Linked DNA regions of Homo sapiens: regions 1, 2, 3, 4, 5 and 7 are each linked to region 6. The links are contacts of gene promoters, found by promoter capture Hi-C in blood cells and fetal thymus (Javierre and others, 2016). All regions are on one chromosome and are shown on one strand. The core of a region is centred on a gene start or on the middle of the fragment in contact, and the rest is flanking DNA. Distances in the headings are between cores, read along the strand shown.

What was found. The method cuts DNA at HindIII sites, captures the fragments that hold promoters and counts their contacts. A CHiCAGO score of 5 or more calls a contact.
Region 1: a fragment that was not itself captured here is called in contact with the fragment with the promoter of LRRC4 in region 6 in 1 of 17 cell types (neutrophils); the score reaches 5.5 in neutrophils.
Region 2: a fragment that was not itself captured here is called in contact with the fragment with the promoter of LRRC4 in region 6 in 1 of 17 cell types (neutrophils); the score reaches 5.5 in neutrophils.
Region 3: a contact is called between a fragment that was not itself captured here and the fragment with the promoter of LRRC4 in region 6, in 9 of 17 cell types (M0 macrophages, M1 macrophages, neutrophils and 6 more). The highest score is 9.5, in M0 macrophages.
Region 4: a fragment that was not itself captured here is called in contact with the fragment with the promoter of LRRC4 in region 6 in 14 of 17 cell types (M0 macrophages, neutrophils, M2 macrophages and 11 more); the score reaches 14.3 in M0 macrophages.
Region 5: a contact is called between a fragment that was not itself captured here and the fragment with the promoter of LRRC4 in region 6, in 1 of 17 cell types (M2 macrophages). The highest score is 5.7, in M2 macrophages.
Region 7: a contact is called between a fragment that was not itself captured here and the fragment with the promoter of LRRC4 in region 6, in 1 of 17 cell types (M2 macrophages). The highest score is 6.1, in M2 macrophages.

What each region holds. Positions count from the first base shown.
Region 1 is chr7:128,392,738-128,396,432 of GRCh38, forward strand. It overlaps IMPDH1 (inosine monophosphate dehydrogenase 1), which reads right to left. Exons shown (of 17, transcript NM_000883.4): 13 at 2,394-2,537; 14 at 2,152-2,296; 15 at 1,719-1,862; 16 at 1,541-1,624; 17 at 1-291. The coding sequence ends at 270. Among named protein-coding and RNA genes, the nearest start is that of IMPDH1, 15 kb to the right of the region's middle. The HindIII fragment of the contact is 1,822 bases long and covers 1,247-3,068 here.
Region 2 is chr7:128,347,635-128,351,505 of GRCh38, forward strand. PRRT4 (proline rich transmembrane protein 4) reads right to left here. Exons shown (of 6, transcript NM_001174164.2): 6 at 2,691-3,871. The coding sequence ends at 3,222. Among named protein-coding and RNA genes, the nearest start is that of RBM28, 5.7 kb to the left of the region's middle. RefSeq lists an enhancer at 111-190. The HindIII fragment of the contact is 5,699 bases long and covers 1-3,871 here.
Region 3 is chr7:127,739,605-127,743,586 of GRCh38, forward strand. All of the region lies in intron 10 of SND1 (staphylococcal nuclease and tudor domain containing 1), which reads left to right. Among named protein-coding and RNA genes, the nearest start is that of SND1, 89 kb to the left of the region's middle. The HindIII fragment of the contact is 2,490 bases long and covers 1,235-3,724 here.
Region 4 is chr7:127,719,775-127,723,866 of GRCh38, forward strand. SND1 (staphylococcal nuclease and tudor domain containing 1) reads left to right here. Exons shown (of 24, transcript NM_014390.4): 10 at 1,513-1,626. Among named protein-coding and RNA genes, the nearest start is that of SND1, 70 kb to the left of the region's middle. The HindIII fragment of the contact is 3,235 bases long and covers 1,225-4,092 here.
Region 5 is chr7:127,678,965-127,683,007 of GRCh38, forward strand. All of the region lies in intron 1 of SND1 (staphylococcal nuclease and tudor domain containing 1), which reads left to right. Among named protein-coding and RNA genes, the nearest start is that of SND1, 29 kb to the left of the region's middle. RefSeq lists an enhancer at 197-286. The HindIII fragment of the contact is 4,364 bases long and covers 166-4,043 here.
Region 6 is chr7:128,029,185-128,033,060 of GRCh38, forward strand. It overlaps LRRC4 (leucine rich repeat containing 4), which reads right to left and starts at 2,253. Exons shown (of 2, transcript NM_022143.5): 1 at 1,729-2,253; 2 at 1-1,556. The coding sequence starts at 1,456. The region is part of intron 16 of SND1 (staphylococcal nuclease and tudor domain containing 1); the gene reads left to right. RefSeq lists silencers at 2,697-2,816, 3,467-3,536. The HindIII fragment of the contact is 11,709 bases long and covers 1,769-3,876 here.
Region 7 is chr7:127,601,951-127,605,894 of GRCh38, forward strand. FSCN3 (fascin actin-bundling protein 3) reads left to right here. Exons shown (of 7, transcript NM_020369.3): 7 at 1-194. Among named protein-coding and RNA genes, the nearest start is that of FSCN3, 10 kb to the left of the region's middle. The HindIII fragment of the contact is 3,939 bases long and covers 1-3,436 here.

The DNA.
Region 1 (3,695 bases), core at 908-3,407, 360 kb after region 6:
CTGAGGCAGGCGCAGGGCCTGAGAGCCTGGCTGGCTGGGCTCGGAGGGGGGCTCCCAGGGCAGCCTGGCCCCGGGAGCAGTCCTGACTCTGCAGGGGATGCCGAGTGAGGGGCAGCAGTCCCCTCAGGACCTCCCCTCCTCTCTGCCTGGAAAGGAGCTGGAGAACCCGTAGTGCAAATCTGTGGACCACTCAGTTATGGAGGGAGGCTGTGCCCAAAAGTGGACACTGGGGTGCATCCCCTCCACCACCTCGGCCTCCACCGCTGTCCTCAGTACAGCCGCTTTTCGTAACTGTGGGGACAAGGCAAGAGGGGGAACAAGAGTGGGTGTGTGGACCCTGCTCCTTCCCAAAACCCTTTCCCCAGGGCCCCCAGATGTAGGAGAGAACAGAGAGCTGAGAAGCCCTGAGATCTCAGCCGTACGGCGCAGGAGGAGGGCCTGGAGCAGGCCCTAGGCCTCTGTCCTCCCCCAGGCCAGCATTCCCTGAAGAACCATGCTGGGTGCAGAGATGGCCATGCTCCTTTGGGCCATCGCCACATCTGAGTGGATGTCCTCAGTGCCCAGGGTGGAGGGACAGCTCAGGCAGGCATGGCCCATCCTCATGGAGCAAACTCCAACCTGGAGCCGAACCTCTGCTGCCCATGTCCGCACCCAGCCCCAGCCCTGCAGGCACAGTGGCCTAGGCTGCTTGTGGTCACTGGGTCCAGTCTAAAATGGGGCAGCCTTAGGCCTGAGGTCACGGGCATCTCTCTGCAGCCAGAAAGGGATATGTGTTTCAGCTGGATGAGGGGACACTGCTGGTTTCCTCCATCATGGTGTTGGAGTTAGGGGGCCGGGGGGGCCCAAACCCAGGGTCCACATCTCATGGTTACACCCCAGCACCCTCCTACCCCCACCCAATACCCACCCCCACCTCCAGCCCAGGTCCCACCCAGACTGCCCCTGCTCTACTCTACGCTTGGCCCGGGCAGCGCGGTTACTTACACGGCAGAAAGGTATAGCTACGGAAGGGTGGGGCGGAAAGAGACACAGGTTAGACGCCCGCTGATACCTGGGGACAGGGCTCCTGACCAGGGTGGGGCACATGCCTGCAACTACTGCTGCCAACGAGCACTGCCCCCGCCCACGGTTGCCCCAGCGCTGGCCCTGGCGTCCATCTCTCTGCCCTTGTACCCGCCAGAGGGGTCACACCCGCATCTTCTGCCTGGCTGCCTGGTGCCACCACAGCCCCTGCCACCAGCCACCAAGCTTCCTGAGCAAGCAAGGGCTGGGAGTCCAGGTGCAGTGACTGGCCACACCTCCTGTGCCCTGCTCGGGAGAGGCCCGAGGGGAGGGGAGGGCCTGCTTGCATGGGGACTAAAGGACAAGGAACAGGGGGCTGGGCCCCCGAAGAGAGGGTGAGGGGCCATCCTGCAGCAGCATCTGTCCCTGCTGCAGGTGGTCCATGGGGTCCCTGGAACCTCAGCTTGACCTCAGAACCCTGGCCCCACCTGCCCAACCCACTGCCTCCAAGTGACAGCAAGGAGGCCACCACACTTACGAGTGCAGGCCATGGACACCACCCTCAATCTGGGCCGACATGGTCCGCTTCTCAAACTTGAGCTCTCCTGAGTACATCATGGACCTAGGAGGAAGGTAGGTGGAGCAGATCAGGGCCACCAAGGGTGGAGAAGAGCGAGAGAAAGGAAGCAGGAGCCACCCCCAGTCTCAGCACTCACCGAAGGACAGACAGGCTGCGGGCCCCGATATCCTGGCAGCCGTGTTGGATGCCTGCTATGAGGTAGGGCACGAACTTCTGAATGGATCCTTTGTCCTGGATGGAGCCCGAGACACCCTGCGCGATCTTCACTTTATCCCCCTCGCTGCGTGGAGGGTGGAAGACTGAGCCCAGCAGCTTGAAGCTCAGAGGACCCCACCCCACCTCTTAAGGGCAAAAACGGGATACCGCCCAGGAAGGTCCCCCAGGCCACCCCTCACTGGGCTGAGTCAGATGGCCCAGGGACAGATCCTGGGTCTGCTACTTAAGCCCTGTGCCTCAGTTTCCAGAACCACCATATGGGGACTGGCTGCCATCTGGGGAAGTCGGTGGCATGAGCGGGCCCTGAAGGGTTGTGGGCTGATCTGCCCAGGTGGGGCCCAGGGTCAGGGAACCTGAAGTATCGTTTCTGGCTGCTGCTGCTCTTCTCCATGGCATCCAGTGAGCCCATGCCCCGGTACTTCTTGAGCCGCACCCCGTCTGAGAAGAAGTACTCGCCAGGGGCCTCCGTAGTGGCGGCCAGCAGGGAGCCCATCATCACTACAGTGGGCAAGGGATTAGTGCCTCCAGCCCACTAGTGCCACCCCCCCAGCTTCCAGCCCTCGCCTGCCCAATCCCCAGCACATTCTCCCCTCACCTGTGGAGGCTCCAAGGGCCAGGGCCTTGACCACGTGTCCCACGGTCTGGATGCCGCCATCGGCTATGATGGGCACACCAAAGCGCCGGGCATACTCAGCCACCTTGTACACAGCAGTGCCCTGGGGCCGACCACAGGCCATCACTGGGGGAGGGTGGGGTGCACAAGGCAGAGAAGAGTCAACAGCAACTCCGGGGCCTGGAGCGGGGCCAGCCCAGCTCTTCCTCCTGTGCACTACCTCTACTCAGGAAAAGGGACAGGGCTGGATGGTGTGTCTGAGGCATAACATAGGTGCTGGCAAATACCACCAGGATGAGTGTCACTCTAGGGATCTGGGCCACCCCACCCCTAAGAGCATGACAGGGGATTCTGACGGGGGAACCAGAAGCGGCCTTCAGAGCCCAATGCCCCCAGACAGGTGGCCCCAGCCTCACCTGCTCTCAAGGCACAAGTTCCCCTTCAAGGCTTTTGTTTGCAAAAACCGTTACCAGGGTTAGGTACTATGGTCCCCTTTGGGATACTGGTTTGCATTTCTTCAAGTCTAAGTGTCCAAGGTCCTTCAGTGTTAGGTTTTAGGTGGGGACTACAAGGAACCACACCTGTCTAGGGACGGATGCAAAGCTGGATAAACCAGAGATGGCGCCTCTCATTTGTTTTGTCCCTACTCTACCTCAAAGCTTTGAACAGTGCCTGAGACAAGTAGGTGCCTAATGAATATTTGTTAAGTGGGTGAGAGAGGGCCCTCATTTCACCATGGTGGCCACCTAAGGCGAAGGGCACAAACCTAAATAGCAGAGGCTCTGAGGACCAAAAGGGGGAGCTGTTTGGGGTAGGAAAGGCCAAATGCATCACTCAGTGTTTTGGAGAAATTGCCCTCACAGGAGGGGCCGGGTACATCTCCTCAGGCCAAGTGAGGACCCAAGTCTTCCAGGCAGCCACCCCACAAGTCAGATACCAGCCTCCAGGGAGCACCTCCTCAATAACCACATGGGGGACACATGCCAGGCTCCCCCCTTCCCACTTCATGTTCAGGAACCCACCCTGCAAAAGGGCTTTGTAATTGGGTGGAACTCCCCACGCCCAACCACATGGTGAAGCAGGTGTATAACATATCTTTATATATTCAGGGACATGTCGTCTCTGTGTCTTAAATATCTGCCTTGTCACAAATCAAATCCAAACCCTGAGGTTCCAACAAGCCCCATGGACAGTCACACCAGCCCCAGGCCCCAAGCCCCAGGCAGAGCCCCCTTGACCGCACTCTGAGAAGCAGGCTGCAGCTCTTGCACCCTGCTTACACCT
Region 2 (3,871 bases), core at 1,319-3,818, 320 kb after region 6:
GTTCCAATATTCCTTTGTGAGACCCTCCACAAATGCTAAGTTTTAAATAGCTCTGATCCAAATCTTCCTTAATTTAGGACAAATCTAACTGTGTCTCTATGCCCATCAGGGGGCAGCAGCCACCCACAGTGCAGGGTTCTGTGCCCTTCTGGGAGGACAACAGTGCAGCTGACCCTTTCTACCCTCCCCACGGTTCAGACCTGGTTCCCCGATCTGTCTCTCAGCCCAATCCCCTCCAATCCATTTATATCAGGGCAGGCAATGGTTCTTTCCTCAGGAATATTTGCTCATCCATCTACCCAAGACACATGCAGCAATCTTTATTAAATAGCAGGTGCTGTGCTACCCTGCATCACACCAGCAATGTGGCTTCCAGGGGAAATAAACTGCTGGCCTCCTCCTCATCCATCACTGTGCAGGAGCCAGGAAAGGAAGTAAGAGAGGCCTGGGCTGTTCTCAGCCAGCCTCTTCCAGATCCCATCCCTCTAGCTCCACTCCCCCTGGCAAGCTAAACCTTCTTATAATACAGAATAGTTCTTGGCCTTAACACTTGTCACAACTATAATTAATTACTTGTGCTATTGTGATTATTTATGTCATTAGTTGTTTAACATCTGCCTTCCCCCAACAGGCTTTCAATTTCGTAAATTCATGGCTGGTGTCTACCTCGTTCACCTGTCTATTCCCAGCACCTAGTACGTCATAGGCATTCAGTAAATATTCTTTAAGAGATTGAATGAATGAATAAATGAATGAATGTGAGTTTGTCTTTCAGTCCCCACAATACCAAGACTTGGAACTGAAGGGTGTAGGCATTAGGATCTACCTGGATTCTTCCTGGGAAACCCACTCTGGGTAAGGGATGAGGCATGAGACAAAAGGAAAGGATCCTCTAAACAAAATCTTGGCCTCTTTATGAAGTAAAAGGGCTGAGGTTATCCTTGCTGAGGAAAATCAAAGAAGTGTTGGAGCTGGTGAACACCGAGCTGTATTCCCTCAACTCCCTCCTGCCTCCCCCCAACTCCATTTAGAGCTGCCATACAGAAAAGGAGTGTATGTGCAGAAGTGTGTGTGTGTGTGTGTGTGTGTGTGTGAGAGAGAGAGAGAGAGAGAGACCAATAGACAGGCCAACAGAGAGACTGGCTAGGGTATTCAGGGCTTGGACTGCTCTTTCGGGAAGTGTGTGCATGAACCCAAGGACCCTTGTTGGGGAGAGTGAGTGAGAGAGACAGGAGCTGGCAAGGACCAGTGTGAGGAAGAGATGGCATCGAGGAGCTGAGTGTGAGCAGAGGCAGATGAGAGGCAGATAGAAGAGTGAGTGGGAAAGAAAGGGAGCAGTTTCTCAGAGCAGCAACAATCCTTGCATGACACAAAGCAACTCTGATGCTGGGCCCACTGCAGCCACTATGACACCAGTGAGAAATGCCTGTAATTAGGAGGTTGGCAGTTCTCTGGGCCTCAGCCCAGAGTGAGGATGCAGCAAGAATTTCTGAGCCAGGTGATGGAGGAGACGCAATCAAAACCATTCTAGTCCCATCCCTCCACCGCACCGGCACCACCTCCCTCCCATTTCTCTTCCCCACTATGATTCTCTCTCTCCTCCAAACACAACTGATTCTCCTCCTCCATCTGAGGTCCCAGGCCCTGGACGCTCCTCTCAGCCAAGACAGATGTTCATCTGCAAGGAGAGTAGTGCTTGAATTCTTCCACTCCTGCATTGGACCTGGTCTGGCCAAGGGCTCTACCCTCTCCTGGCTTCCCTGCCTGCTTCCCTCTTGGCTCCCAAGCCTCCCTTCCAGTCCCCAGGAGCTGATGGGCAAAGTTGGAAGAAAAAAATCACGAGGTTCCTGTGCTTCCACTTTGAGCCTAGTGTGTATGCTCCTGCAGGTCTCCCTGTGATATGCAGGACAGCTGCCAAAACACTGTCAGATTTTTGTTTTCAAACCTAATCCACAACCCTGTTTTTGTGCTACTCGGAACCACCGCATTTTAGCCAAATGACAAACACACACCACAGAGCGCAGAGCCAAATGCTCCAGGCAAGGGAGGGATTACAGAGTGCCTGGTGGTTGGATGTGTTTGTGGGTCTCTCACTGTGAACTTTGCTACAGGAGCTGGCTGGGCTGGACAGGCTTTCTCCAGGGAGGATCTGCACCTATTAGAGATGAGAGTTCTTCAGGAGAAGGGGGAGGGGGTTGAAGAGCCCCTGTTGGTGGGTGAAAAGGTAGAAAGGTAGTTTCCTCTTTGTGGATCCCAAACTGTGGGAACATGGCAGGGAGGCTGCTGAGGATCCCAGCTCAAGGTGACCAGGACCTTTTACATGCGTCTCAATATTTCCATGAAGGACTTGACTCCTAACTAGTCCCCAGCCAATTGTCTACCAGGACCTGAAGCCAACTCCTAAGAATGCAGGCATTTCCACCAATGACAGTAGAGTTTCTGCCTCACCTCCCAGGGCGATGTCCCATCTCTGTGAAAAGCCACTTCCCAACGATTCAGAAGAGTCTTCAAGGGGCTGCTCCCAGTAACCCCACTCATCCCAGAAACAGGACAAGACTCGTTGGTCTTGTATGAAGGTCCCTGGGGTCTGGAATGGACCCACCCCACCCAAGAGCTGCTTCTCTTCCACTAGTGATGGAATCACTGGTGCTGTTGCTCAATTGAGTTTTCCCAAAAAAGTCAGACCTTGCTCCTCTGAAAATATTTTATTGATAAATTAAGAGCATTCCCCTCCCACCCAACTGCTATAAAGTCTCCTAGATGGGTCATGGACCCCTGTGGGTGTCACATGGAGGAAAGGGAGTCCCATTCACACAGGGGTGGGATTCCTAGGCATGGCAGAGGTGGGTAGGGGGGCCTGAGGCAGGTCCCAGGGTCCTCTGAGGACAGCCCCTCTCACTCAGCACCAGAGTGGGGAGTGGTGGTCAGGAGTGGAGCACCTTGGAGCTTTATTGCTGGTGAATGCCAAGGAAAATGGGACCCCTGCCAACCTAGATTTGCAGCTGAGGGCATCAGCACCCAGGGCTCCAGAGAAGGTGGCACTGATTCCCAATCGATAGAGCCTGGCTGCTGACCCACCCACCCAGGGACCCCTGGATGGGGAAGGAATCTGGAGAGGTATCTGAGCCAGGGAGGATTGGGGAAGGATTACAGTGTGCAGGTCTCGGGCAGGGCAGGCGCCAGAAAGGGGCATATCGCAGGGTAGCAAGGTGGCCACCTCTTCACAGGTCTATGGTGTCGCTGCCCACGCTCAGCTCGTCGATCTGTCGGCAGGCGTCCAGGAACTGCTCCTGCAGCAAGGCCTCCTCGGCCTGCAGCTCAGAAGCAGGCTCTGGGGAGTCGCGAGAGGGTGGGGACAGGGCCTGGTAGGATCCTGAGGCCGGGAGGCTGGGGCTGCTTCCTGAGGGCCGCGGGGGACTGAGGACGCAGACCAGAGGGCAGCGCGGGGGCCTGTCGGGGCTGGAACACAGCAGCATGGACGAGCTGTCCCGCGAGAGTCCGCAGAACGAGCCAGATGAGACGCTGCTGCCTGCGGGCCAAGCCCCAGGGGAGGGGAGCTCCGGGGGCGCAGCGGGGCCAGAGGCCTCCCCTGATCTCTCACTGGCCCTGCCCCCGGTCCCCAGCGAGGCGGTGCGGTAGAGTCCGAGCCCAGGCAGAGCGTCCTCGAAGGCAGGGCCCTGGAAGAGGCCAGGCGCAAGCAGGGCCTCGCTGCAGAGGGCCTCCTCGATGCTGCGTCGCAGGTTGATTGGGGAGGGCGGGCGGAAGTCCACGGTGTAATCGCTGCAGGGAGAGGAAGCCGGGGACGGGGCCGGGTTGGCCGCCGCGCCTTCGAAGCCCCGGCAACCTCCGCCCTGGAGTAGGAGGTCTGGGC
Region 3 (3,982 bases), core at 1,230-3,729, 290 kb before region 6:
GGAGAGTGTAACTCATTTTAGGGCATATGGTGCATTAGTAGCTAAGACTCAGCATCCTGACTCCTGATTCCCAGGGACAGCCATGGAAGAGATGTAGAAGTAAAATGCCACATTCCAAGTTGGACTTGGTCCTCTTGCCCTGGAAGCCTATTTCTTGTCCTAGGTCTGAGGGTTTAGTACATGGTTAAATTGCTGGCCAAGGTGCTTCAGACATTCTTTAGCACCTGCCTCTGTCTGGACAAGGAATCAGGCAGGGGCTGATGAGAGTGGTCTCTGATATGTGGTCTCTGGAAATTCTTTTGGCCCAAGTCTTAAAGTCATGGTGGTAAAAGGTTGACTAGAAGAGAGCCTCTGAGTGGAGAGACATCCTATGCACAATGCTTGTTCTCTTCTCCCCTTTCTTATTGCCAGCATAAACAGTTGCACTTCTGGCTGGCAGATTCGCCCTTGCTAAGTCTGTGCTCAGGTTGCTGTCCATGATTAAATTCTCGCTGCCTGCAAGCACAGATTCTAGGTGTTGTTTTAAGGTTCAGGGCAAAACAGTTTTCTGTAACCTCTCCTGCTGTAAGGGTAACTGGCTATATTTGTTTGTAATGGACACATGTCTGGCTGTGTGTGTGTTTGTGTGGACTACCTTTCTTTTATTCATTAGGCATCTATTGAATGGATAAGGTTTGTAAAAAAGCCATTTTCTTTAGCAAGTAGCTTGGGTATTTTTTTAAGCGTTTATTTTTCATGTGTTGATTTGGAATAAAAAGCACACACAACTTGGAATGAAATAAAAGACTAATGAGAAACAAAGCCATGAACTCATCAGTGTCTCAACTCCACAAAATTAGAGTCCCCAAAGAATCACAGCAACTCATCTGTGTATCAAGCAGCAGAACCGATTATTGCCTGCTTTGGGTCTGACTCTGTAGCAACATGGCTCAATCAGCAGAATAATGCAGAGGAAAAATGTTAAGAATAGATGCTTTTAATGCAGCTCTCAACCCCAGTCTGCACATCAGAAATCACCCAGGTAGCTCTTAATTAGTGTACATGCCCCAGGTCTACTGAATCAGAATTTCCAAGGGGGTGGGGGGTGGTCTAGTAGCTTTTCTTCCCTCCACCTTCCAAAGCTCCTCAGATGCTTCTGATGTGCAGCTAGGATTGAGAACCACTTTTTAGTGTGTCCTGGGTGTCTGTGGTAGAAGTGGAAATCTGGTGAGATTGATTCTGGATGGGAGTCTTAAGCTTGAAAGTGATGACATCAAAACCAAATCAAATCTTATAGATGCAGATGTTGTTTAGCCTGCTTTAAGACTTATATAAAGTAATCATATTCTTTTACACTTTGGAGAATTTTTACTTATTCCATAATAAAGATGTCATAGCCACTCATTTCTTTAACGATGAGTTTAAATATTTCCCATCTGGAAAGCTCTTTCCTTGAAAAGGTTTATTACTTCTCTGTCTCCTCTGGAAGTAGGGAGAGAAAACCATTAACATAATAATAGTGTCTGACTTCTCTTCTCTGTCCTATAGTTTGTGCCAGTAGTTTCCTTAAGAGCCATAATGTGGCCTGATTTATGAAACTTACCTGGGAAACTTTTATTCTCCCGTAAGAATACCTGTAACATAATCAGGATACTTAGGTGGGTAAATTTCATTCCAGGCTTGATTTGCCTTATATATAATTAACTTTCTCAAGAAGTAAAATCTAAAATGACTCTTAAATATTGAATGTGATTTTATAAGATGGCTCCTTGAAATGCCCTTTTCCCCCTTTGTCCTTTACCTGTTTGTTTTTTGTTTGTGTACTTGTTCTTTTACCTTAAAATCGCCTGGGGGAACTTGAGAACAAAATAAAACAACCACTGCCCAGGCCTCAACTAAAATAATTAAAGCAAATCTCTGGGAGTGGAGTGCAGGCCTTGTTGTACCGCAGGTGACTCTAATTCTGAAAGAGGCTTGCAAGCCCCTGTGTTGACTGTTGCTTGGTGAGGTGCTTCTCTACTAGCCCTTTCTCCTCCTTCCTCACTCTTTGCTAACATTGCCTTCCGTTGTGTACCTGTTATGGCCCTTAGGAGACCTAATCATTTCACTTCTGCAGGTGACTTTAAAAGGCCCACTTGTTAGAATGGAACACAGTAGATTCCTCTATTTGAACTTTGCTTTTAATAAATGATGACACTATATGCTTATTTAGTGTTCTTTTGGGGTAGCTCAGATCTCCTTAAAAGTCTTATTGTTAATCCCCTCAGTGTTTCCCGAGAGTGAGGTAAGGGTTTCCTTGTTATTAAATCTAATACCCTGAAATTGCTGGGCTCTGTTACATTGTTCTCAATTGTTCTCAACTTGAATGCTGTCCCTATCAGGTTGGACAGTTTCCCAGAATGCCTTTCTGGTAACCGAGCATTAAGATTTACAATCTAGCTTTTCTTAGCCAGAAGGTAAGTCTTGCAGGGACTTCAGAAAGGTGTTCTTTCTAATCCTTAGTGAAGAGATCTACTTGATGGGCAGCTGGTAGCTGGGCCTAGGTATTCTTAGAAGAAGGATGTTGTAATGTTAGCATTAGTGTGAAAGTCTGCATGAACACTGGGCTGATCCAAGCCAGAACTGATGAGTCGAGAGGACAACTTGTGCCACCAAGATGTGTCTCTGGCTGATGTTTAAATTGCATCAAATTAAAGGGTATTTCTCATTTTCCATTGTGGTGTCACCAAAGGGCAGAATTAGTGTCATTTTCAGTAGCTTTGAGCCTCTGCAACTGTCACTCTCCCTGAGGGTCACTAGAGATAGTAACTCACATTCTGAAGAGGCCGGAAACCTCCCTGTTGGATGACTTCTTTGGAGAATTATTATTCCAGATCCACTGAACCCTACTCACCTTCGTTTTTCCTGCAATACTTTTTTTTTTCCTTTTTAAAAATCTAGAGTAGGAAAAACTTCCTATTAATGCCTGTCTGTCATACTAATAGGGTAGAAGATATGGGCGGGTGGGTAGTGGGATGGCGGCAAGTACCATGTACCTTTTCTTGTGTGAAAGTGCTCCACAAAGAATGGCCCATGGGAATGTTTTAACTGTGTAGTCATTTTCTAAAAGTTTAGTTCATCGGGTGGTTTCTTCGTCTTTCTTTCCTCTGAGTGTTGTGTTAGGCATGAGGAGGGGCACAAAGGTATGCAAGATGAAGCCCCTACTGTGTGGTGGTGGGAATAACTCAAGCACATGCTAATCAAGGCAGCTTATGATAAGATGCAAGAGGGACACACCCCAAGTGGTGTGGGCATTCAAAGGAGAAAGAAATCCCCTTTGACTTGTTCTTTACCACTTGGATTCTAGTGGTGTTCCTGGTTTATCTGTTGTGAGGTAGAAACCAAAGTACAGGGCATGCAGAGACTGTTTATCACTGGGCACAGTTATGGAGGTAACTAACATGTTAACCCCCCACCCCCATTTTATTCTTGCTTCAGGAATTTTTGTCTCTGTTTTCTCCTTGTAAACTCTTTTGCCATCCCCATTGTTGTAGAAGCCAATCTCCTACCCAGACAAACAAACTTAACTTTTTTGGTGGAAATTGATGGTGAGCCTGTTACAAGGGATGGAACTAAATTGTAAGAGTGTCCAAATCCCACAAACCTGCCAGGTGTTGGTCATTAGGTACATGTTTGAATGTTTTCAATTTGAAGAGATTCCTCTACAGTCTGTGGGAACCTCGGTGTGCAAGGTGTTTTCCCTTGAAGCTTTCTTTGCCTCTTACCTAGACATTTTGTGAAGGCTTCTCCTCAGGCAGCCCTTGTCATTTTGCTGAATGTCAGCAAACATTTACTGTCACTGCTCTGATGTCAGGGAGGAAGGTGATGCTTTTACTTTCTAGCAAAATAGCCCCCAACGTTTTGGTAGCACTACATTTAAAGGTCACCACCCTCTCTCTCCTTCTCTTCCCTCCTCTGTCCTCATTGTCATCTTTATAACCTGTCCCTTCTGAAAGTTGTTTTT
Region 4 (4,092 bases), core at 1,592-4,091, 310 kb before region 6:
TTACAGTGGTAAAACCCAGGGATACCTTCCCATCCACCAGCCATAGTAAACCTTCTATGGACTTACAGATTGATTCCAGCTGTCATCTTTGTTTTTTCATTCATTCTGTTTGATGGCACTTAACTCCTGCTGTTTTCTGTTACATATAATTTCTCACTTGTTTATGTTTTCTATCCTTCTTGAGATTGTTTCTTAAGGCATTCCTTACTCTTCGGTGTGTGGTTGGTTGGTTCTTTGTGTTTCCGGTGTGTGGCTGGTTGGTTCTTTGGAAAAGGTAGAGAATTGCTGTTTTTGGAGGAAGCTGCAAGTAAATGAATACATTCTGTGCTAGAAGATCTAAGGCCTTTCAAGAAATAGTTAGAGAGGCCTCCTTTAAGATACTTATCAGTGTGACATCCATGATGGCAAAAAAGAGTCTAGCTCCTTTTGTTTCACGCATGAAAGAGGAGGGAAATTTTGCCAGTCCGCCCTTGCTGTGTGGCAGCTGACCCTGTAAGTTTGTTCAGTCTGGTAGCTCTTAAAGAGGCCCGATTGAAGCCTAGAAGAGTTCGATTTTGATTCTGCAGATGAAGTAGATGGTGATAGTGTTTTGTAGTCTGCAGCTACCTTGTAATAAAGTGTTGCTTCAAAGAAAAAAAAAGGCATTGAATATAATTGGGCAAATTGTAGACTGCTGGCTGTATTATGCGTTCTAGCTACAACACTGATGTGGTAAGATCCCAGTTTGAATGGAGTTTTATTCTGCACACATTGTAGAATGTTCTAATAACCTTCACAGAGGAGTATTTATGCTTTTGTCCTTTGACTACATACCCTTGTAATTTATCCCAGACTAGTTCTTTTTCTTCTGAGCGTGGGGTTCTGTGTTACTGATCTTGGGTTCCAAAACAAAGATGTCCGTAGTAGTAGTGCTCTGAAAAGGTGGCTTTCAGAGTATCTGAGGTAATATCTCAGTAATTTCATGTTTCTGCCTGTGAGATTAACAGCTGAGCATCTCCTTTCCCATGCTGAGATGACAATTCTTTTTGCCCTTCACTTGCCTTTGATTTTTCTGCTCTCTATTGGGGCATCCTATTTTGGTTCTTTCTCATCTAGTGCTGGTATCTTCTTCAAATCCAACCCTTGCCTCTTTTTCTAGATTCACATTGAGATTTTGATTTTAGTTTAGAAGCTGTTTCAAGGAAAATCTTCAATTACATGTAGAGACAGGATTTCCAGTTCTTAAGCTTTGTAGTGAACCACAAATCTTTGTCAGGGCAAAAATAAAAAAAGATTGACCATCTTTATGAATGATACAGATTTTGTCTCATTGAGAAATCATAATAAGGTCTCTGGGAACTGATAATTATAGCATAGTTTTCTCTGACATTGTTGCACCATGAAGGATGATACTGTTTTTCCCACAAATGGCTATTGATCTCACTTTCTACCTGTGAGGGTGGTGGGCCTTGCTCTTGGACATGTGATGGGGGCCATAGAAGCAGGTTTAAGCATGTTCCTTTTTGCTCACAGGTGATGCAGGTTCTGAATGCTGATGCCATTGTTGTGAAGCTGAACTCAGGCGATTACAAGACGATTCACCTGTCCAGCATCCGACCACCGAGGCTGGAGGGGGAGAACACCCAGGTGAGAATAGGGAAGCAGCCGCGCCTCTTTGCATAAACCAAAAGGAAGAAGTTGGAGAATTGATTAATATATGACATATATAATACATATATGTGGGAATGCAAAGGGACAAGTATTTTAAATCTCCACAGTATTATTTTCTAATATTTATAGCCTGACTACTATTGGGCAGGTCTCAGTGTCTTGTGGCCCACACCCACTGCTCTGCCGAATTTCACGTGGGCACTGTTGGCACTTCTCCCCAGGGGGCTTGAGTGCAGTGAGGGTTGGGATATGTGAGATGGTGGATGAGTTTAATTAACAAGATCTTATTTTTCTGTGAATAAGGAGAGGAGAAGGTCTGTATCTCGTGTACATTGTAATAGGACCCGTTTCTGCTGGTCATTTTGATTTGATAGTTCTTTATGTTTTTGCTCTAGGAAGAAATGAATCTTGGTATATGTATTCACTGGGGTCACCTACTCATTTTTTGCAGGTAGTAACTCTAATTAGTAGTTAAACTGTTTGCTATTTTTTGGATCTTTTGGCAGATAGGTTGGTGTATGACTCAGGTATATCATTTTTGAGAAATGCTTTGTATGAAAACTCTAACAAGAGCTGGTATTACATGTGCAGATAGACTGATTTTTTTTTGTAGTCATGACAGTTATGTAGCCATAAGAGTTATGAGAATTGGGAATAGGGATTAAGGTTGAAAATTTTTGGGGATTTGGTTATGTCATATTTTTACAGACGTCTTTCCCGCTTCTGTTTTTGTCGTCTGATAACTAAACTGTGTGATTATGTTAACTAGTTATAGAACTAGTTCCTCAGTGAGAGCCAGCGCCAAAGGCAAACATTTGGACAGTTTTCAGTAATTAACTATTGTGGATTGAAGTTACTGCTGTGTGTACTATCTACTGCCTGCTTTTTTTTTTTTTTTTAAGAAACAGGGTCTTGTTATGTTGCCCACACTGGAGTGCAGTGGCTATTCACAGGTGTGATCATTGCGCCCTGCAACTTCAAACTCCTGGGCTCAAACAGTCCTTCTGTCTCAGCCTCCTGAGTAGCTAGGACTATAGGTGTGAGCCACTGCACCCAACTTATCTACCTTTTTTTTATTTATGCCTTTATACAAAAAGGATGGGATAAAAAAAATCCCTTTTGTATAAAGGGATAACTAAAAAAAGGTAGATAAGTTGGGTGCAGTGGTTCTAAAGGTGTGAAATTTGCTATTCTGATGTTTTGCACATATACATATCTTGGTGCATTCACAAGTTGAAATTCAGCATTGTTTTCATTTGTGTGAGAGTTTATAGACAGCCCGTAAGAGTAAAATAAAAATATGATTGTCTTTTGAATCAGATCATACATAAAAACCACGTACAGGATGGGTGATTTGAATGTCTGGCCAATCAGTTCTTTCTCTCTCTTTTTTTCCCTTAGAGGAGGCAGTTTAATGCAGCAAACAGTATTATGGTAAGGTTGAGAATTTAAATGTATGAAAGCCTAGAAATGCCAAAATAAGGTTCTCTCAGTAACTGTAGCTCTGCCTCATTGCACAGAGTAAATACACATCTCCAATTTTATCAGTATTGGGAGTAGTCCACAATTCTGCATCTGTGCCGTACAGTTGGAATTAAGGTTCCCACAGCAACCACAACTTTGAAATTCTTGAACGTTAATTTTTGTGCCTGTATCATCAGCCAGTGCATTATGTTAATGTAGACTATATAGCTGAATTTTAAGCAGTTTTTAGGGGGATGGGGGTGTTATAGCTTAGGTAGGATGATAGCAGGTTTTCTGAAGTAAGCACTAACCTACTACTGAGTATTTTTAGTCCCAGTATCCTTTGGAACTCATCAGTGGGTAAACGATGCATTTCCCTTAGCCTACTGGCTGACAGGAAATTGTTGGAATTGGAGTATTTCCTAGTTTAGGCAGAATCCTGATTATAGAATTTCTTGTCTCTTACAAGGCGTGTTACCTCTTTTTTTTCTTCTTTTTTCTTTATTCTTTCTTTTTCTTCCTGTTCACTCCTGAGATCTTACTCCATTTTAAGACAGTTCTAAGTAAGACTTAGCTGCAATAATCTACAACATATGGCTTGTGAGGAAGATGGAGGAATGATTTCCATTATTTGTCTGTTAAAGTCCTTTGGAAGAGTTTACTGAAGGGCCACGTAAGAAATAAGTTAATATAATGAACCTTGAATGTAGTGGTAGAAGGTACCCTGAAGAGTAGCCGGTTTTGGTGGGTGGTCTGGGTGATCTTCCCAGGTCAGCTGCTGTACCTTGTGAGTGTCAAGGATGAGAAGTGAGTCAACAGGAGGAATGGCTCTCTAGGCCAGCGCTGTCCAACAGATATATAAATATGAGCCACACATGTGAGCTCTATTTGTTATTTTAAATTATCATATAACTACGTTAAAAAACTAAAAAGAAACATTAATTGTAATTTTTAAATTTGACTTATATCCAAATTATT
Region 5 (4,043 bases), core at 1,098-3,597, 350 kb before region 6:
GTCCCTGGCCTGCTTCTTTGCCACTCTGACGTAGAGTCCCTGCATGTGCAGCCTTTGGGTTGTGACAGTTGAAGAATGGCATCATGGACCCTTCAGCTCAATGACTTTCCTGGTTCTCCTTTCTGTGTGACACACAGGATGCTCGCTATATTGTTTCTGAGAAAAAGCTTGTATTGCTTCTGGCCATTTTCATCCTTTTTAGAGCTTTGTAGATTTCACTGAAGTTCTGTCTTTTTCCTGTGGCTTCCTACCTAGTTATTTCTAGAGGATTTGAAGGTTTATACTTATAGCCGCTTCTGGGGTGAGTCACCATGCCTGACTTTTGCTTCTCAGGCAGCTGCCATTTAAAAAAATTTTTTTGTTAATGTTTTTCAGCTAGCATCTAATCTTCCTGCAAGAATATGGAAGGCTCTATAGTAAAATATACATTTTATGTCCCCATGTTTTTGTACTTCTGTGTTGGACCTTAAAATTTTTTTTTTAGATATAATTAACATACCATAAAGTTGACACTTTTAAAGTATATAATTCAGTGGCTTTTTACTACAATCATGTAACAATCACTACTAATTTGGAATATTTTCATCACCTCCAAAGAAATCTGTATCCATTAGTATATTCCCCACTCTCCCCTTCTGTCAGTCCCTGGGAACCACTAGTCTATGTTCTGTCTATGGATTTCCCTTTTCTGCACATTTCATATAATGGGAACAGTTCAGTATGTGGCCATTTGTGTCTGGCTTCTTTTACTTAACATAATGTTTTCAAGGCTCACCCATGTTGTAACATCAATCAGTACGCAATCTCTTTTTATTTCTGAATTATATTCCAATTGTATGGATATACAATATTTTATCACCAGTTACAGCTGTTGATGAACATTTATTGTTTTCTCTCTTTTTTTGGCTATTATGAATGATGTTGCAATGAGCATTGGTGTACAAGTTTCTGTGTGGGCATATGTTTGTATTTCTCTTGGATATATACTATCGGGGAACCTGCCCCTGATAGTCACGTAGGTTCTTTTCTATTTTCCCTAAGCGTCGGCTGGTTTGAGAAATAAAGGGACAGAGTACAAAAGAGAGAAATTTTAAAGCTGGGCATCCGGGGGAGACGTCACATGTCGGTAGGTTCCGTGATGCCCCCTGAGCCGTAAAACCAGCAAGTTTTTATTAGGGATTTTCAAAAGGGGAGGGAGTGTACAAATAGGGTGTGGGTCACAGAGATCACGTACTTCACAAGGTAATAGACTATCACAAGGCAAATGGAGGCAGGGCGAGATCACAGGACCACAGGACTGGGGCGAAATTAAAATTGCTAATGAAGTTTCAGGCACCATTGTCATTGATAACATATGGAGACAGGGTTTGAGAGCAACTGGTCTGACCAAAATTTATTAGGTGGGAATTTCCTCGTCCTAATAAGCCTGGGAGCGCTATGGGAGACTGGGGCTTATTTCATCCCTACAGTCTCGACCGTAGAAAACGGCCATACCCAAGGGGGCCATTTTAGATGCCCACCCTCAGGGGCACATTCTCTTTCTCAGGGATGTTCCTTGCTGAGAAAAAGAATTCAGCGATATTTCTCCTATTTACTTTTGAAAGAAGAGAAATATGGCTCTGTTCCGCCCGGCTCACCGGCGGTCAGAGTTTAAGGTTCTCTCTCTTGTTCCCTGAACGTTGCTGTTATCCTGTTCTTTTTTCAAGGTGCCCAGATTTCATATTGTTCAAACACACACGCTCTACAGTTTGTACAGTTAACGCAATCATCACAGGGTTCTGAGGCGACATACATCCTCCTCGGCTTACGAGATGACAGGATTAAGAGATTAAAGTAAAGACAGGCATAGGAAATCACAAGGGTATTGATTGGGGAATTGATAAGTGTTCATGGAATCTTCACAATTTATGTTTAGAGATTGCAGTAAAGACAGGCATAAGAAATTATAAAAGTATTAATTTGGGAACTAATAAATGTCCATGAAATCTTCACAATCCACGTTCTTCTGCCATGGCTTCAGCTGGTCCCTCCGTTCGGGGTGCCTGACTTCCCGCAACATATACACCTAGGAGTGAAATCACAGGGTCATATGATAACTGTTTAACTTTTGAGAAACCTCCAGACTCTTTTCCAAAGCAGCTACACCACCCATAATGTATGAGGGGTCCAGTTTTTACACATCCTTGTCAACACTTGTTATTGCCTGTCTTATTGATTTTAGCTATCCTAGTGGTGGTAAAGTGATATGTCATTGTAGCTTTGATTTGCATTTGTCTGATGACTAATGATGAAGAGCATCTTTTCATGTGCTTTTTGGACATTTATATTTATTTTTTGGATAAATGTCTCTTCAACTTACTTTAATTGGGCTATTGTCTTCTTATCAAATTATGATAGTTCTTTATTCTGGATACTAGACCCTTGTCAGATATATGAGATAAGAGTCTAGTATTCAGAATTTGCATATACTCATATTTTTTTCTTTCTTGATAGTGTCCATTGAAGCACACTGTTTTTAATTTTTATGAAGTCCAATTTATTTATTTATTTTTAAGTTGCTTGTGTTTTTGGTGTCACCTAAGAAACCATCACCTAATGCAAGGCCATGTAGATTTACAGGTTTGTTTTCTTCTAAGACTTTTATAGTTTTACTCTTAAATTTAGGTCTCTGGTCCTTTTTGAGTTATCTTTTGTATATGGTATGACGTAGAGGGCCAACTTCATTCTTTTGCACATGGAGATCTAGTTGTCCCAACACATTTTTGTTGAAAGGACTACTCTTTCCCCATCAAATTATCCTGGCACCCTTGTTCAAAGTCAGTGGGCCATAAATGTATGGATTTGTATTGGGCCTTCTTTTTGTAATATTTGTCATCAGATGTCTGCCCTTGTTCTTTATGTTGGTTCTTCACACAGGTAGATATTGCTGTTACAGTATACCTACTATACTATCTTAACTAGTGGATATGCCCGTTAAACCAGTCCTCTTTGCAGAGCTAGTAAGATGCCATTCTCAGACCAAAGTGATTTTTGCTCTTGGGCTGGGAAAAAATATTGGCTTCATTGACATACAAATTTCTGTACCATCCTTTTCTTTGCCCTTAGTATGGCTGGGTTTTTGTATAAGAAGTTTTCTGTCTTGTTGTGTCATTGGCCCAGGAGTTAAATAGTTAAACAAACCAAGTCATTTATCAGAATCTAGTGAAGATTTAATGTGGTGTTCCTGTTGCTGGGCAACATTTTAGTGGCTGCCCATACAGTGTTTCACTGTAGGTAAATCTCCCAGTAAACCCATAAGTGGGTTTGAACAATTTGAGTCCCCAATTTTCCTTCTCAGCTGCCTTGTTTCAGCCTTTGTAACCACGTGACTTGTGCCCTGAAGCCAGGTCCTTTGAATCACACCACGTCCCTCTGCAACCTTTATTGGCAGAACTGAGAAATGTCTAATCCATAACCTCAATCAAACTGACTTATTGTGACACCTGGTTTCACAAACCTCCTGCTGTATCAGGTAGTTCTAAGATCATTTTTCTAGAATGTCAGTTTATTAATATAATTGCATAAAGCAGTAACCATTTGACTTGATTTCTGTGCTCTATAAATTAGCAATTAAGGATAATTACTGCATCCATGAAAGTTTGCAACATGAATCAGCACAGCTTTGGCAGACTAATTACCTATGACAGTTTCTTCTCAATCTTAACATTATTCTCCTGAAATTAAAATTCTGGTAAACAACATATTATACTTACATGTGATGTTTATTGTTTGTCTGTCTCCCCCTACTAGAATGTCAGCTCCCCAAGAGCAGAAATTTTTGTCTGCTTTGTTTCACTGAAACATGCCACTTGCCTAGAACAATGCCTGGCACATAGTAGGCACTCAGTAAGTTTGTAGTGAATTAATAACTGAATAAATCAAGGAATAAAATTATAACAATAATCAACCTGGCAGGTCTTTCTGAGAAGAAAAACGGCTTGTTTTGGTGCCATATGACATATAAATTGTTGAGCATATAGACCCTTGGCCTTTTTCATATTTTA
Region 6 (3,876 bases), core at 1,003-3,502:
CCGGCTGGTAACCAGTGGACGTGGTAGGAACAGGCTTGTACTTTCGCGTTGTGTCCTCAGGCGAGATCTCCGTGGTCTCCACTGTTACTGTGGTGAAGAAGCTGTAGTTGGAGGTGTTAAGCTCAGCCGTGCTCACATTGAGGTAGGCCGAGGCGTTGGAGTTGCCTGCAACATTGGTCACCATGCATGTGTACACCCCAGTGTCTGAAAGCAGCACGTGGGAAAAGTTCAAGGTGCCGTCGTTGAGGACAGAGATCCTTGGGTGGCGGGAGGCGTGGCTGAGCACTGTCCCATTGGGCAGCAACCACTTCACGGAGGACATAGGGGGAGTCCGACACTTAAGTTCTGCCATCCGACCCTCAGAAATGTTGAGGTCTCGAGGTGCGTCCATGATGAAGGGGGCAGAGCACTGGAAGGAGGCCTGGTCCACCTCCACGAGGTAGCGGCCTCGCATGTGCATGGGAGCATGACAGCGGCCACAGCAGGTGGAATTGGTGGGTATATACTCTCGAAGCCACCAGGCTAGCCACAGAATGTCACAATCACAGTTCCAAGGGTTGTGGTGTAGATGCAACTCCACCAGGTACCTCAGCGGGGTAAAGAGGTCATGGGGCAAAGAAGAGAGGTTATTGTGGGCCAAGTTGAGTTCCACAAGTGAAGCCAGCCCGTCAAAAGCATTCCGCTCAATCAGGCTGACCTGTGAGTTCATGACCCAGAGCTTCTTGAGGGAGCTCAGGCCATGGAAGGAGCCAGGCCTGATCTCAGGGAAGTGGTTCCCTGACATCTCCAGCTCCTCCAGCCCCACCAGGGGGGTGAGATTGGGCATGTCTTTAATGTTGCACATGCCCAAGTTCAGATACTTGAGGTTGAACAGCCCCTCAAAAGCTCCCTCAGAGATATACTCCAGCTTCTTGAGCTCCCCCAAGTCCAGGCGCATGAGGGAGGGCACCCGGTTGAAGGCGTAAGAGGGGATGCTTTCGATGGGGTTGTTGCGAAGCCAGAGCTCCCGCAGCTTGGACAGGTATTCAAAGGCCCCGCTAGGGATGACTGTCAGCCAGTTGTCGAACAGCTCCAGGGTGTTGAGGCTGGCCAGGCCGTTGAAGGCCCCCACCTCAATCTGCCGGATGGAGTTCCTGCCCAACTGCAGGACCTCCAGGTGGTGGAGGTGGCGGAAGGTGTCGGCCTGGATCATCTGGATGTTGTTCTCCATGAGGTTGAGGTACCGGGTGTTCGAGGGAATACCCTGCGGGACCTCGGAGAGGCCCCGGCGCGTGCACACCACCTTGCTGAACTGGTTACTGCACGAGCAGACGGAGGGGCAGTTCTGGGGCCCGGCTGAGGCGGCAGCAGCGATGGCTGCACACAGAATCCACACTTGCGCCGTGAGGTAGACGAACGGGAGCAGGATGGCATTCCAGGTGTGGTGGTGCACAGTTACCTGCCACAAGAGCTTCATGGTGTGGCACGTTCATAATTCACCATCGCCTGGGATTTTGGCTCGGAAAGGAGAACCAGCCCTACCCCGGCTTAAGTGAGCTAGGAGCTCCTCTTTCCATCTGGAGAAGGAGGTGGGGAGGGGGCGATTAGAGAGACGGAGCGGATCGGCCGAAAAAAATCCTGCCAAACTCGAGCGGCCCCTGGTCTCCCAACCCACCCTCAAGGCAAGCCCTCCGAAAGCTACGACTCTCCCACACTGCAACCGTCCCCACCCAGTTCGCCGTCACCTACCTCGGAAGGAAGGCAGGAAAGCACTGGCGTGGTGTCCTTAAGCTTTCTCCACGGGAGCTGGGCACCTCGTTCCCATTCCGACTTCTTAGTTTTAATTAACAAAAGGGGGAAGTGGTGGGGGCGGGGAGGGCAGAGGGGAGGGGAGGGGAGGGGAGGGAAGGGGTGGGGGAGACAAAATGGCCTCTAGTAAATCCGGAGCCGGAGCCGGCGAAGCCGCGGAGTTGAGGCGCGCCTGGGAGAGCCAAGGCCCGGCGGGCTATGCAGGTGCATGCCCCCCCCTCCGCCCAAGGAGCGGCGCCACCAGCGCTTCCCGGCTTTGTCCTTGGACCCTGGCACCGGCTCGCTCCAGCCGCGGGGGAAGGCGCTTCATCGCCAAAGTGCGCTCCGGCGGCCCCGGCCCGCTCTGCGGGCCGCCGCCGGAGGGAGTGCGGGGGCGCCCCGAAGCCGCCCAGGCCGCACTCGCTGGATGCTGCGCTCCCTCTCCCGGCGTCGGCCGCTCCGGGCCGGCGGCAGCTGATTGCGGTCGTGAGCTCGCGGAGCGGCGAGAGTTAAGAGGAGGTGTTCGCGGCGCCTTCGCCCTCCCCAGACACACACCCCCTTTCTCCTCGCCTCTTCTCGGAGGGTGGAAGAGACAAAAACGGGGGGTCAGTTCTCCAGTCCGCCGGCTGCCGGCACGCGGGGCGGCGCTCCGTCCGGCCCCCGAGGACCAGCGGCGTGGCGGCTGCGCTCGGACCCGGTCCGCCGGCCGGAGGAGCGCGCGGCGCCCGCGGTCGCGCCCGCACCGCAGGCCCCTTCAGAGAGTCCGGGGGCGGGCGCGGGTCCGGCGGCGGCGGCGGCCGCAGCCCCCGGCGGCGCGCAACCGCCCGTCGCCGCCCGCCGCTGCCCGGCCCCCGGCGCGCCGCCGGCTCCGGCTTTGTGCGGAGGGAGCGAGTTCGCGGCTTCGGCTCCCGGCGCCCTCAGTGGCCGCGCCGCCAGCGGACTGCTGCAGCGGCGTGAGCAGCGGGGGTCGCGGCTGCGGGAAACGCTCCGGAGCCCAGGAACATAGTCCCCGCTGGCTAGCGGCGGCAGCAGCAGCAGCGGGGCCCCTGCGCGCGGCGCCCACCGTCTCCTCCTCGCGCCGGGCTCGCGGTGTTGCAGGCGGCAGCCACGCAGACTGCTCTCTCATCCTTTTGTCCTTCAGTCAGAACGTGAATGTACTGCTGACGCATACTGTTCTGGGAGAAGATTAGCGTGATGCAGTGCTCTTATGTATTAGCGCCGCTCCCCCTCCGTCGCCTGCCTCGCGGGGTTAACGCCGGCGCCTTCCAGCGCCGCGCCGGCCGGCGCCGCGCAGCCCCGCGCCTCCGGCCGCCCGTCTTCCTCTTTCCTCCTTCCTTCCTCCTCTCTTCCTCTCTCCCCCTCCCCCCTCCCCCCTCCCCGGGCCGCTTCCTCCCCGCCCCCTCTAGACGAGCGGAGCGGGGCCAGGGCGAGCGGGCGAGCGAGCCGGAGTGAGCGTCAAGTGAGGGGCCGCGCGCAAGTCGCAGGCGTTCGCAGCTATTTTGGGCCGGTCGGAGGGAGCAGTTGGGTGGCCGCTGATAGGCTGGAGCGGCGCGGGGCTGCGGCGGGAGAGCCCGCGCCGGCCCCCGCCCTCCGGCCCGCACCCGGGGCCCCCTGGCTCTGAAGAGCGGGGCTCAGGGGCCCGGCGGCCCGCGGCGGGGCTGCTGCATTTGGCCTGCCTCTCGCCCGGCCCGCGTCATCCTCACCCCCGCTGACTGCTGACGGGGCGCGGACTCGCGTTCGGAGTTCGGAACTGCGTGGTGGGGACTCGGGGGACGGCGGCCGGGGCCACGAGGCTCCCAGGACCGAGAGCCCGGGCTTCGCTGCTGCACTGCCGCCAGCCCCTCCTTCGCTTTGCCTCACCCCTCCTGTGCTCTCACTGGGGCTTTAAATGAGGGTTTCCTTAATGAGGGTTGCGGGGGCGGGAAACAGTGGCAGGAATGACCAAGTGTGATGAGCTGGGGAATGGCAACCTGGGACAGCACAGAGGCCGGCAGGAAGGATTGAGGTGAACTCCCGGAGCCCACGACACAGCCCGTTCATTCATGGAGCTGCAGCCGCGGCTTCTCAGTCTTCGCTGGCCGGAGTCGCCCCTTGCTCCCCGCTGCCCCC
Region 7 (3,944 bases), core at 217-2,716, 430 kb before region 6:
TTTTCCAGTGAACCCATGAGCAGCCAGCATTGCCCTGAAGGGTTTAGAATCCAGTTATGACTTTAAATATCTTTTTGGTTTAGAAAAAAGGAAAGATTGTTAATCTCGTGAGCACAGGATAATGGTAATAACACCTTATGCCTGTATAGGCCACTTTACCTCCTCCTACCACGATTTATTTAACTTCCCCACCCATCATTACCTTTTTTCCAGTGAAGTGGGTACTTCCTCCACCACTTCTTACCTTTTTTTTTTTTTTTTTTTTTGACAGAGTCTTGCTCAGTCACCCAGGCTGAAGTGCAGTGGCAGTGGTGTGATCTTGGCCCACTGCAACCTCCGCCTCCCGGGTTCAAGCAATTCTCCTGCCTCAGTCTCCCAAGTAGCTGGGATTACAGGCGCCCGCCACCACCCCAGCTACTTTTTTTTTTTTTGTATTTTTAGTAGAGACGGGGTTTCATCATGTTGGCCAGCCTGGTCTCGAACTCCTGAACTCAGGTGATCCACCCGCCTCGGCCTCCCAAAGTGCTGGGATTACAGGTGTGAGCCACCGTGACCGGCAGACTTCTTACCTTTCACAGACAGCAAAAGTGATTTGCCCAAGATCTCATGACTAATCACAACACAGCTAGGCTTCTGACTCAAATCCAACTCTAATGTCCACCATTCTTTCAGTCAAAGCAGGATTTCCAAAATGTCTGTCATTCTTACACTGTTTTTGTGATTTTGGCCTTTATCTACCTACCATCTGCCCTATTAATGTTTTTATTGACATAGACTCTTAAATACATTTATTTAGAAAGGAATATTTTTTCACTATCATAAAATGGAAAACCAGTATCACTTACCATAAGTGGAAAATGACTATAAAAATAAATACAGGTATACCTCAGAGATATTGTGGGTTCAGTTCCAGACCACTGTGATAAAGCAAATATGGCAATAAAATAAGTCACACAAATTTTTTGGTTTCCCCAGACATATAAAAATTATGCTTACAGTATACTATGAAGTATGCAATAGCATTATGTCTTAAAAACAATGTACATACCTTAATTTTAAAATACTTTATTGCTAAAAAATGCTAATGATCGGCCGGGGGCAGTGGCTCACACCTGTAATCCTAGCGTTGGGCATTAGGGAGGCCTAGGCAGGCAGATCACTTAAGGTCAGGAGTTTAAAACCAGCCTGGCCAGCATGTTTGAAACCCCATCTCTACTAAAAATACAAAAAATTAGCCGGGTGTGGTGGCAGATGCCTGTAATCCCAGCTACTCGGGAGGCTGAGGTAAGAGACTCACTTGAACCCAGGAGGCGGAGGTTCCAGTGAGCTGAGATGGCGCCACTGCACTCCAACCTGGGCAAAAGAGCAAGACTCCATCTCAAAAATATACATATATATGCTAATGATCATTTGAACCTTCAGTGAGTCATAATCTTTTTGCCAGTGGAGGATCTTGCCTCAATGTTGATGGCTGCTAACTGATCAAGGTGATAGTTGCTGAAGGTTGGGGTAGCTGTGGCGATTTCTTAAAATACGACAATAAAGTTTGCTGCACTGATTGATTCTTTCTTTCACAGATGATTTCTCTGTGGTGTGTGATGCTGTTTGATAGCTTTTGACCCACAGCAGAACTTCTTAAAAAGTTGGAATCAATTCTCTCAAACCCTGTTGCTATTTTATCAATTAAGTTTATGTAATGTTCTAAATCTTCCATTGTCATTTCAGAAATGTTCACAGCATTTTCAGTAGGAGTAGATTCCATCTCAAGAAACCACTTTCTGGCCCGGCGCGGTGGCTCAGGCCTGTAATCCTAGCACTTTAGGAGGCCAAGGCGGGCGGATCATGAGATCAGGAGATCAAGACCATCCTGGCTAACACAGTGAAACCCTGTCTCTACTAAAAATACAAAAAATTAGCCAGGCATGGTGGTGGGCGCTTGTAGTCCCAGCTACTCGGGAGGCTGAGGCAGGAGAATGGCGTGAACCCGGGAGGCAGAGCTTGCAGTGAGCCAAGATCACACCACTGCACTCCAGCCTGGGCAACAGAGCAAGACTCTGTCTAAAAAAGAAAACAAAAACAAAAAACAAAAAACAAAAAAAAAACACTTTATTTGCTCTTCCATAAGAAACAACTCTTCACCAGTTCAAGTTTTATCACAAGATTATAGTAATTCAGTCTCATCTTCAGGCTCCACTTCTAATTCTAGTTCTCTTGCTATTTCACCACATCTACAGTGGTTTCCTCCAATGAAGTGTTAAATTCTTCAAACTCATCCATGAGAGTTGGAATAAACTTCTTCCAAACTCCTGTTACTATTAATATTTTGACCTTCTCCCATGAATCATGAATGTTCTTAATGGGCATCTAGAGTGGTGAATTCATTTCAGAAGGTTTTCAATTTACTTTGCTTGGATCCATCAGAGGAATCACTAATGTAAGACAGGTATAGCCTTATAAAATGTATTTCTTAAATACTAAGACTTGAAAGTCAAAATTACTCCTTGATCTGCAGGCTGCAGAATGGATGTTAGGTTAGCAGGCATGAAAACAACATGAATCTCCTTACACATCACCATCAGAGCTCTTGGGTTACCTCTCAATTAAGGCATTGTCAATGAGCAGTAATATTTTAAAATCAATATTTTTTTCTGAGCAGTAGGTCTCAATAGTGGGCTTAAAATATTCCATAAACCACGCCATGAACAGATGTGCTGTCATCCAAGATTTGTTGTTCCATTTACAGAGCACAGGCAGAGTAGATTTAGCATTATTCTTCAGGGCCCTAGGATTTTCAGAATGATAAATGAGCACTGGCTTCCACTTAAAGTCACCAGATGCAGTAGCTCCTCACAAGAGAGTCAATGACTGTCTGTTGAAACTTTGAAATCAGGCATTGACTTCTCCTGTGTAGTTATAAAAGTCTAGATGGAATCCTCTAATAGAAGCCTGTTTTATCTATATTGAAATCTGTTGTTTCGTATAGCCACCTTCATCGGTGATCTTAGCTGGATCTTCTAGATCTTGCTGCAGCTTCTATAATACATCAGCACTTGCTGCTTCACTTTGCACTTTTATGTTATGGAGATGGCTTCTTCCCTTAAGCCTCATGAACAAACCTCTGTTAGCTTCAAACTTTTCTTCTGCAGCTTCCTCATTTCTCTCAGCTTCATAGAATTGAAGAGAGTTAGGGCCTTGCTCTGGATTAGGCTTTGGCTTAAGAGAGTGTTATGGCTGGTTTGATCTATCCAGGCAACTAAAACTTTCTCCTGTCAGCAATAACACTATTTTACTTTCTTATCATTTGTAGGTTCACTGGAGTAGCCCTTTTAATTTCCTTCAAGAACTTTTCTTTTGCATTCACAATTTGCTAATAACTGTTTGGCAAAAGAGGCCTCACTTTCCACCTATCTCAGCTCTCAACAGGTCTTCCTTACTAAGCTTCATCATTTCTAGCTTTTGCTTTAAAGTGAGAGATGTGTGACTGTCCTTTCTTGAACACTAAGAGGGAATTGTAGGGTTATTCATTGGCCTAATTTCAATATTGTTGTCTTAGGGATTAGGGAGGCCTGAGGAGAGGGAGAGAGAAGTGGGAAAGGCCAGTCCGTGGAGCAGTCAGAACACACATCACATTTATCAATTAAGTTCACCATTTTATTTTATTTTATTTTAGACAAAGTCTCGCTCTGTCACCCAGACTGGAGTATAGTGGTGCAATCTCAGCTCACTGCAACCTCCGCCTCCCGGGTTCAATGGATTCTCCTGCCTCAGCATCCCAAGTAGCTGGGATTATAGGCAAGTGCCGCCACACCCAGGTAATTTTTGTATTTTTAGTAGAGACAGAGTTTCACCATGTTGGTCAGGTTGGTCTCAAACTCCGGACCTCAAGTGATCTACCTGCCTCGGCCTCCCAAAATGCTAGGATTACAGGCGTGAACCACCAAGCC